Linked DNA regions of Homo sapiens: regions 2 and 3 are each linked to region 1. The links are contacts of gene promoters, found by promoter capture Hi-C in blood cells and fetal thymus (Javierre and others, 2016). All regions are on one chromosome and are shown on one strand. Each heading gives the region's core, a stretch centred on a gene start or on the middle of the fragment in contact. The rest is flanking DNA. Distances are from core to core; before and after follow the strand shown. Region 1 holds the start of ZNF229 (zinc finger protein 229). Region 2 has its middle 48 kb from the start of MIMT1. Region 3 has its middle 78 kb from the start of MIMT1.

Evidence for each region. Contacts are between HindIII fragments. The CHiCAGO score rates a contact against its expected background, and 5 or more counts as called.
Region 2: a fragment that was not itself captured here is called in contact with the fragment with the promoter of ZNF229 in region 1 in 1 of 17 cell types (total CD4 T cells); the score reaches 7.4 in total CD4 T cells.
Region 3: a fragment that was not itself captured here is called in contact with the fragment with the promoter of ZNF229 in region 1 in 2 of 17 cell types (non-activated CD4 T cells and naive CD4 T cells); the score reaches 10.8 in non-activated CD4 T cells.

Annotation. Positions count from the first base shown.
Region 1 is chr19:44,446,628-44,449,799 of GRCh38, reverse strand. ZNF229 (zinc finger protein 229) reads left to right here and starts at 1,328. Exons shown (of 6, transcript NM_014518.4): 1 at 1,328-1,491; 2 at 2,200-2,287. The HindIII fragment of the contact is 11,359 bases long and covers 1-3,172 here.
Region 2 is chr19:56,887,142-56,890,365 of GRCh38, reverse strand. No RefSeq gene overlaps it. Among named protein-coding and RNA genes, the nearest start is that of MIMT1, 48 kb to the right of the region's middle. The HindIII fragment of the contact is 1,842 bases long and covers 819-2,660 here.
Region 3 is chr19:56,917,517-56,920,836 of GRCh38, reverse strand. No RefSeq gene overlaps it. Among named protein-coding and RNA genes, the nearest start is that of MIMT1, 78 kb to the right of the region's middle. The HindIII fragment of the contact is 1,775 bases long and covers 879-2,653 here.

The DNA.
Region 1 (3,172 bases), core at 79-2,578:
AATTCGATAATCTGTTTATAAGAGAGAGTTCTAGAACTTCTAGGATGAAATTTTTGAAACACAACAAGGAGGGAGAGATAAGGAAATGAGTTATCACTGTAACTGAAACCTTTCATCATGGCACAGAAAAAGCAATCTCTATCTTCAGAACACACTTGTATCCCAGAAAATATTTCATTATATATATAGTAATGTAGTAAGTGATTAGGATGCCGTTTAAATCAGAAAGGAAAGAATTAATATTTATGTAAATTTTGTTAAGAAAAGTAGACAATCCTTTGGTGAAACAGGAAACTCCATCTTCCTTTCATATCATACACTTAAATGAATCACGCGGTGATTCAAAAGAAAAATGAAAGAGCCTGAAATGAATATAGATATGCACTTATTGGGAATCAGGCTAAGGAATGTCTTTTTGGTCATACTGGAGAAAAAAAAGAAGCCACAAATGAAAAGACTGATATACCTTGTCAGATGAAGTTTTTTGTTTTTTTTTTTTTCTAAACTACTTTATAAATGTTGAAACTGGGGGAGCAATTCATCACTTAGAAGCGATATCATTCATACACAGAGAGTGTATGACAATAAAAGATGACAATGAAATGCAATCGGTAATAAGCATATTTACTCTGTCAAATTGGGAAAATAAGACAGGATATTTAGTCCATCAAATTGGGAAAATATTAAAGAAAGTGATTGTGTGTAGTTTTGATATCATAAAATTAGAAGTGTAAGTTCAATGCAGGACAAAGGGGTAACTTCCCTAAAAACTAAAGAATGCTAGGCAAGTATTGCAAATAATTTGTGTTTTTTTATTATCTCTATGTATCTCTACGTCTTTTGTGACATACAGAACTATCCACGATATATGACCTGTGGCAAGAAATGATTACAAAATATTATGATGCCATTTGGGAAATGGGATTCTTAAGAATTCATATTTACTCACATAAACCAGGGATTAAGTAAGAATTTTTTTTAAACCATTCTTTACATGTAATATGAACTACTTTTGAAATAAATATTTAGTTGGCTTTTACACCAGAAAATCAATAATGCTTTATATCCCTGGTGATGGGATGATGGGCTTGTTTGAGAATATAGTCAGGTTTGCTACAACGCGAATATGTTAGTACTGAGTAAAGACATTCTTTTCAACTCAGAAACACCTTGCATGCCGCCTCCCGCCGCCTCGCAGTGGGCGTGACTCGAGGTGGACGCGCATTTACGACACCATCGCCCCTAGGATCGGACTGCGCTGCGGAGGGTTCTGGGAAAGGTAGTCCCACACCTCGAGTCGACTACTTCCGTTTCCGGTGGGCGCGTCACCTTGATTGCTTCTTAGGCAGTGGTGAGGCGTCTTAGAGACGTGCATCTCCATGCGGTTGTACTGTCAGGCCATGGGAATTAGGATCGGCTCTATAGGACCAGTGTGAAGGGACAACGTGCGGCGGAGGGTCGAAGCCCACGGATTTCCATGAGCTCGGCCTGGTGAGGCAGGGGTGTAAGGAGGCGCACGTATCGAACATTCTGAGCGCCTGTGCGGGGTGGGCCCGGGTCGGCAGCCCTCGCAGTCCAGGCTTGGAAAAGCAGTTTGAGGCCAGCTCTGGCTTTGAGATGAGATCTGCAGTGCGGGAGACTCCACTGTGTCAGTTGCGGATCGATGACATGAATTTTCTCAGGGTAGCCGCCCACCCACTTGTGGAGTAATTTCAGAGTTTTCTGCGAAGTCATTTCTGTAAACAGGAAGTTGATTCCCTGTGTTCTAATTTTATCCTTTGAAATGTATTAAGCGCTGTGCAAGTCCTAGGAGTTGGTTTGCTGTATCGTTGCTGGCTCTGCTTTTTGTAGCCGCCTAAGCACACACAGGCAGAATTTCACTTGTAAGTGTCCCACAGCATGTGACAGTCAGCTCTGGATTAAAATCTTGAGATTTTGTCTTGATTCTCCTTGTCTCCTGAAAGGGGCAGTGAAAGTAGGCTTGTAGACGGTTTCTTTGGGCATCAGGAATGGCGTGTCCCTTGTACTCTGAGTCCTGTAGGAAGAGAGGTTCTTTTCCTCGGCTCCTGAAGCAAGTAGCGAGGGTAGATTACAGGAAGGGGTAGATTACATCCAGCTGGCACTGAGAGATTTCCCCCTGTGGCGTGGTGGGAATTGGGATTAAATCATGTTATCCTGCTGTTCATTTTTCTTTCACAGGCTTCCTTCTTGGAATTGTTCGTTTCTCGGAGATAATTGTATAAAAGAAGGAGAAATAACCCCACATCTCTTGACACTAGAGCTCCAGGTGAGTGAACTTTGGTTCTCTTTTGTGGCAATGCCAGGTCTCTTGGTGACCTCATTCTTCATCCCATTGATATCACAAATGTTCATTCAGACCCCTTAGCCACACCTGCCTTCCCCTAGAAATGGGGGAGGTTTGAGGAATTTCCCAGTGTCTTTATTTAGTGTATTCTCTTCTTGGCTCCTAGTAGTGTGTCACTGGGTCAGTAAAGGCTTACACTGTTTCAGCGCCATGCTGAAGAAACGCAGGGTAGAAATAATTAGAGTAACTGTGATGGTGTATATTAACTGAGTGCTTACTATATGCCAGGTATTATTTATCCATGGTGTCTAGGACAGTGCCAGGCTTGCCAATAAATATTTGAATAAATGAATGTATTTCTATTGAATTTTCTGAGCAAGTTTGTATGTTAGCTATTATCCCCATGTCACAGATGAGTTGCTAAGGTTTAAAAAGTTAAAAAAACTTAACAGGTAAGACCTGGCCAGGAGACCTTCTAAACAGAAACCAGGTCTTTGCGCTTATGCTTCCTTCTGGACTTGTCTCATCCCAGCTTTTTTCACAGCTGATTTATTTGTCAGGCAGCTCTTAGAGACTGTCCCTGACCACCTGATTTAATGTTGCTCTTTCCACAGCTGCCACATATGTTCACCTGATAGCACCTACATTCTTGTTGGAAAACAGGAATCTATCATGTTTGCTTTATTTTCTTCATAGCCCTTTTTGCAACCAAAGGTCACCTAATTTGTAGAGAGATTAACCCACCCGAAAGTAAGCACCATGAGAACAATTACCTTTTCCATCTTAATTTACTGCTGTATGTCTAGTGTTTATTCTCCTAAGATGTTGTTAGACACTGAATGTACATTTACTAAATGCATGAGTTCC
Region 2 (3,224 bases), core at 490-2,989, about 12 Mb before region 1:
ATGTAATGTCTATTTTACCACAATTAAAAAATGGTAAAAGATCAGGTGCAGTTGATCACACTTGTAATCCCAGCATTTTGGGAAGCTGAGGCATGAGGATCGCTTTGAGATCCTCAGGTTTGAGACCAGTCTGGGCAACACAGTGAGACCTGTCTCTACAAAAAAGCAAAAATTAGCCAGGGCCGGGCGTGGTGGCTCACGCCTGTAATCCCAGCACTTTGGGAGGCCAAGGTGGGCAGATCACGAGGTCAGGAGATCGAGACCATCCTGGCTAACATGGTGAAACCCCGTCTCTACTAAAAAATACAAAAAATTAGCCGGGCATGGTGGTGGGCACCTGTAGTCCCAGCTACTCGGGAGGCTGGGGCAGGAGAATGGCGTGAACCCGGGAGGCGGAGCTTGCAGTGAGCCGAGATTGAGCCACTGCACTCCGGCCTGGGTGACAGAGCGAGACTTTGTCTCAAAAAAAAAAAAAAAATTAGCCAGGCATGGTGGTGCATGCCTGTAGTCCCAGCTGCTTGGGAGGTTGAGGCAGGAGGATCGCTTGAGCCTGGAAGGTCAAGTCTGCAGTGAACTGTGATTGTCCCACTGCACTCAGCCTGGGTGACATAGTGAGACCCTGTCTCTCAAAAAAAAAAAACAAAAGAACCTTAACTTAATCATAATCATATCTCCCACAACACCTCCCCACCTTTTTTTCAAACAAAGCAATATTCACAGGCTCTGAATATTAGGATTAGGACATGGATGTATCTTTTTAGGGGAAGGCAACATTTAGCCCACCACAGCCTCCTTGAAGTTTCTGGAGAACATAAGCTTGGTTCTACCTCTGAGCATTCACCTGGAACATTCTTCCTGAATCTAATCAGTATTATTGTCCAAGCCACTATCATATTGAGGGCCAACCAGGATTTGCTGATGGATTGGATATGCAGAGCTGTGAATCAAAAATGGCCTTAGGTCTGAGCAGCTGGGAGGATGGAGTTGTCATTTACTGAGATGGGCAGACTGAGGGTACGTAGCTGTGTCAGGGATGAGGTGAGATGAGGTGTTCACTCGTAGCTATGTTAAGATGGAAAGTACTATAAGACATCTAAGTGGAAATTTCCTATAAACAGTGGGTTGATGGAATTCATGGGAGATGTTGAGCTAGAGCTATAAATCTGAGATTTAACAATATATAGATGCTATTGCAAAGTTTAGCAATGTGTGGGATCATTTAGGTATCAAATCCAGATGGTAGACAAGATCTGAGCACTGAACTCTGGAGCACTCTAGAATTGAGACATGATAGTAGAAAAACATGGAAAGGAATATGAGAAAGAATATGTATTGGTTAGCAATTTGCTGCATAACAAATCATGCAAAAATGTATTAACTTAAAACAATAATCATTTATTATCTTTTATGGTTTCTGAAAGTTGGGGATTTGGAAACAGCTCTGATGGGCAGTTCTGGTCTGGGGTCTCTCATGAGGTGGTCAGAAGGTTTGACTGGGGCTGGAGAATCTACGTGGCTCACTCGAAGTTTGCCAAGTTGGTGCTGGCAAGCTGATTCCTCTGCACCTGGACCTCTCCAGGGGCTACTTGAGTATTCCACAACATGGTGGCTGAATTCCTACCCCTACTCCCAAGCAAGTGATCCAAGTGGAAACTACGATGTCCATTATGACTTAGCATTAGAAGTCACACACACTATCACTTCCTCCATGTTCTGCTGTTTCCAGCTGCAATGGGAAGGGTTCAAATGAGAATCAAAAACTTCCTAGACTCTCCCTTCACACTTCCCTCAGCCTCAGCTGGTCATGAACCAGCTCTGGGTCGGTGTCAGAAGAGACCACAAGACTGTGAGCACTACTAGGGAGTGAGGATTATTGCGGGCCACTTTGGAGGCTGGCTACTACAATCTGGTCAGACTCAGGGATGCCAGGAGCCTCTTGTCCTTAATCCCTCTGGCTGTCGGGCTGGAGGCCCTTGCAAGGGCCAGGAAGGAGACTGGCTCTTTTGACCTCTCCATCTTCCACCCCAGCAGAGGAGGGGTAGCCTGAGACCCCTGCCTGACACCAAGAGACAGGATTTCTATCCCAGTGGGGTATAGGGAGTATAGAGAAGGAAAGGGGAGAAAGTATCATTGCTTCCATATCCAGCAACAGGGGAGGTAGGAAGAAAGCCAGAAGAGAGAATTGTCAGGGAGGTCTGGTGAACCCAATTCAGTGTGGACTCAAGTCTTCTAAGAAGGACGGGTTGGGCCAGGCACGGTGGCTAATGCCTGTAATCCCAGCACTCTGGGAGGCCGAGGTGGGCAGATCACCTGAGGTTGGGATTTGAGACCAGCCTGGCCAACATGGCAAAACCCCGTCTCTAGTAAAAATACAAAAATCAGCTGGGCATGGCAGTGTGCGCCTGTAATCTCAGCTACTTGGGAGGCTGAGGCAGGAGAATCACTTGAACCCAGGAGGTGGAGGTTGCAGTGAGCCAAGACCATGCCATTGTACTCCAGCTTGGGTGACAGAGTGAGACTCTGTCTCAAAAAAAAAAAAAAGGAAGAAGAAGGACAGGTGACAAATTGTCAAGTCCTTATGACAGCTGGAACTCAACTACTGGATTTGCCAATGTGGAGATTATTGGTGGCCTTTTAGTAAAATGGTATAGATGAAAGCTTGATTGGAATGAGGTTAAGAGAGATAGAGAAATGCAAAAGTAAAGATGAGGCTATAGAGTTAGTTCTAAGGGGGAGAAGAGAAATGGTGCAGGAGCTGAATGAGATGTGGGTTGGTCAAGCACAGTGGCTCATGCCTGTAATCCCAACACTTTGGGAGGCTGAGGTGGGAGGATCACTTCAGCCCAGGAGTTCAAGACCAGCCTGAGCAACATAGGAAGTACCCGTCTCTAACAAAAAATTTAAAATTAGCTGGGCGTGGTGATGCACACCTGTAGTCCCAGGTGTGCTGAGACTTGGGAGGCTGAGACGGGAGGATTGTTTGAGCCCAGGAGGTCAAGGTGTCACTGAGTGGTGGTTGTGCCACTGCACTCCATCCTGGGCAATACAGCAAGAGCTTGTCTAAACAAACAAACAAAAAAGAAAGAACTCAGATTCCCATCCAAACTATGAGGGTTCAAATCTTGGATCTGTTTATTCAGTAGCTGTTAGACAAATTATCTCTTCCTATGTGGAAAATAAAAAGGATCTCTGAAAGTACCCAGTCAAAGGGTTATTGCGAGAAT
Region 3 (3,320 bases), core at 517-3,016, about 12 Mb before region 1:
CTGTGTTACTTTGCTAAGGTTAATGGCCTCCAGCTCCATCCATATTCCTGCAAAGGACATGATTTTGTCTCTTTTTATGACTGCATAGTATTCCATGGCATATATGTACCACGTTTTCTTTATCCTGTCTACTGTTGATGGGCATTTAGGTTGATTCCATGTCTTTGCCACCATGAATAGTGCTGCAATGAACATACATGTGCATGTGTCTTTACGATAGAATGATTTATATTCCTCTGGGTGTACACCCAGTAATGGGATTGATGGGTCAAGAAGTATATATATATATAAAAGCTCAGTATCAGTGATCATTAAGAAAAATGCAAATCAAAACCACAATGAGATACTGTCTCACACCAGTCAGAATAGCTACTGCTAAAAAGTAAAAAAATAATAGATGCTGGCAAGGTGGCAGAGAAAAGGGCATGCTTACAGACTGTTGGTGGGAGTGTAGATTAGTTCAGCCATTGTGGAAAACAGTGAAGGTAAGAGTTCAACATAAGAATGGGGAATGGGTGCACACAGTCAGTCTACAGCAGGGAGTCTGGGGCATATGGACGGCATATAAAGCCAAGCGGCCCATGAAATCCACCAAGGAGAGGATGTGGAGAGGGAAGGGAAGGAGCCCCGGACAGAGTCCTTCAGAAACGTCTGTATTTAAAGGTCAGGTTTTGAGAAGGAACCCACTCAGTTCAGTGAATGAGAAGACCCAGGAGGTGCAGAATCACCAGGAGGACTCGGGGAAGAAAGCTGTGCAGAGGGTTTTGTGGTTGTTTTAAACAATGGGGGTGCAGGGGAGGCTTTCCAAGGTGAGGAGTTGGACAGGATGAAGACAGTGAAGTTGTGTCACAGTACTGACTCCGTGTTAGAGAAAAGCTTGCTTGCTTGCTTGCATAGAATCCTTGCTTTGCTCGAGTTTGTAGCTTCTTTATTAAAAACAGCCTCCGGAGAACAAGGCCTTCAACAGAGATAAAAGAGAGAGCAGCTGACCAGCCACCCTGGGAATGTGCTGACCGCCCTGATAAGAACAGCTTGAGCATTCCTGCAGAAGGCCAGGGACATTGACCAAGGAAGCCGCGATTAACTGTCCGCCTGAGCCCGTGCACGTTTCCCAAAAGCACTTTGACCATCATTTAAGCTCCCCTAATTTCCCTGATCCGGAGGCACACGTGGAGAGGTGGTCTTGGAACACGCCTCCACTGTTCACCGCCTCCCCAGGGGTGCCACTTCTGGAATAAAACCAACTTTCCTTTTCACCCAGAGCATGTCACCTTCCAAGGTGGACGTCCCTGTCAAGGTAGCTGCTCTTCTTCTCCTTCTTCTTCTTCGTCTTCCTTCTTCTTCTTCTCCTTCTCCATCTCCTTCTCCCTCTCCCTCTCCCTCTTCCTCTTCTTCTTCTTTCTCCTCCTCCTCCTCCTCCTTTTCTTCTTCTTCTTTTTTTGAGACAGAGTTTCACTCTTGTTGCCTAGGCTGGAGTGCAATCTCAGCTCATTGCAACCTCCGCATCCTGGATTCAAGCGATTCTCCTGTCTCAGCCTCCTGAGTAGCTGGGATTACAGGTGCCTGCCACCACAACCAGCTAATTATTGTATTTTTAATAGAGACAGGGTTTCACCATGTCGGCCAGGCTAGTCTCAATCTCCTGACCTCAGGTGATCTGCTCGCCTCCGCCTCCCAAAGTGTTGAGATTACAGGTGTGAGCCACTGTGCCCAGCCCACAAAACATCTTTAACAGTTGCTTTGGGGTGGCTGTGGAACAGGAGGGGCACACGGTGGTCTCCAGAGAGCTGTTGACACAGTACAACAAAAAGTTTGAATAAAAAAGTTTGAATAAAAAAGACTGCTAATTTTCTTGGGGGATTTTCTCCATCACTTTGTTTGGAATTTGTCTGGTGCAATTCATAGAGGGGCCCACCGTGCACACAGGGGGAGTTTCCCACGTTCTTCCTGCTTTTCTAACACTGATGTTCCAAGATATTTCAATGGTCATGATAAGCGAAAAGTTCAAGGGAATGTGTACTAAGATAAGTAAACACATACTGAGATAACATCCTCAAACATTTTTTCTCAAATAAGAAAGTAGAGGTTCTAAACAGGAAAACAGAACTGGAATTATCAAGTTACTGGACAGTTATAATTATCAGACTTTAAGAATGAATAATCAAGTTTCAACCAATTTCAGGGTATTAGTTGTCTTTTCTGTGTCCACCCATCTGAAAAACCAGAGAACAACACGAAACGTCTCCGTATTAAAGACAAAAACAAAATTCTGTTCTGAAAGTTCTTAGCCTTTGCAACCAAAATCAGAAGAAAAAGAAAGCGATCACATTTTTTAATGGAACACATGAAAGTGTATAAGTGAGCCTGAGAACCATCTAAGGTAGCCCAGGTCTAAGTAAACACAAACACAGATTTCTGTTTTTTTAAAAAAAGAAAATATAAAGTTGTCACAACATTAACTTCACAGAGAAAAAAAGAAAAGGAAAAAAAATTTCCTTGCAAACAGTTGGTGTGCAAACAGATGGTGTATTCAAGTCTGTTTACTGCTGGGCAAGGGAGGGATTCCGTATGCCAAACACGTAGTGCTGTGTATGGAAGACACCATTCATTTGCCCAACTTCACTGCGATGCATACGGTGCTGAAATCAAAGCTTGCTTTTACCTTGGGGCAAAATTCTCCAGCAGGGGGATAAGCTGATTCAACATCTGTCAGCTGGACTTTTAAAAAATTCAAATATGTGGGTTCAGTGCTCATCCATTTCTTTCTAAACAACTTGAATTCAAATTCAGTCTCCATTCCTTATAAGCCACGGGAATTTCTTTATCTTACCGTGAAATATGTCAGGCATGGAGAAGATCGTATATATAAATATACATCGGAATGCATTAAAGATAATCATAAAACCAACAACCACACATGTAACTTTTAGACATTACCAACGCTAAATAAATTCCCTGAAAATCAGTTCTTCAAATGACTGGCTTATTTTATTTATTTATTTATTTACTTTTGTGGATGGTTAATTCCCTGAATGGCCAAATTTGCCCAATTCACCGGATGCAGCTAGTTAACAGCGACAGAAGCATGTTTCCTTTAACTCCTTGTGACAGCTACAGCGATCCCAATTGTAAGGGAGTTCCTGGAAACTTCTGTGCTGTTTAAATGATCTGACTTGAAGTTTTCGTTTCATTTTTTTGGCAGATTTTAGTTTAGCTTTACATTGGCTGTAGCTGCTTCATTGTAGCCAAACTGAAGTTCAGTGTGTTCTGAGGATTTTTATATTTAAAATGAGAATTTCGGGATGCTTCCACCAAGCGTA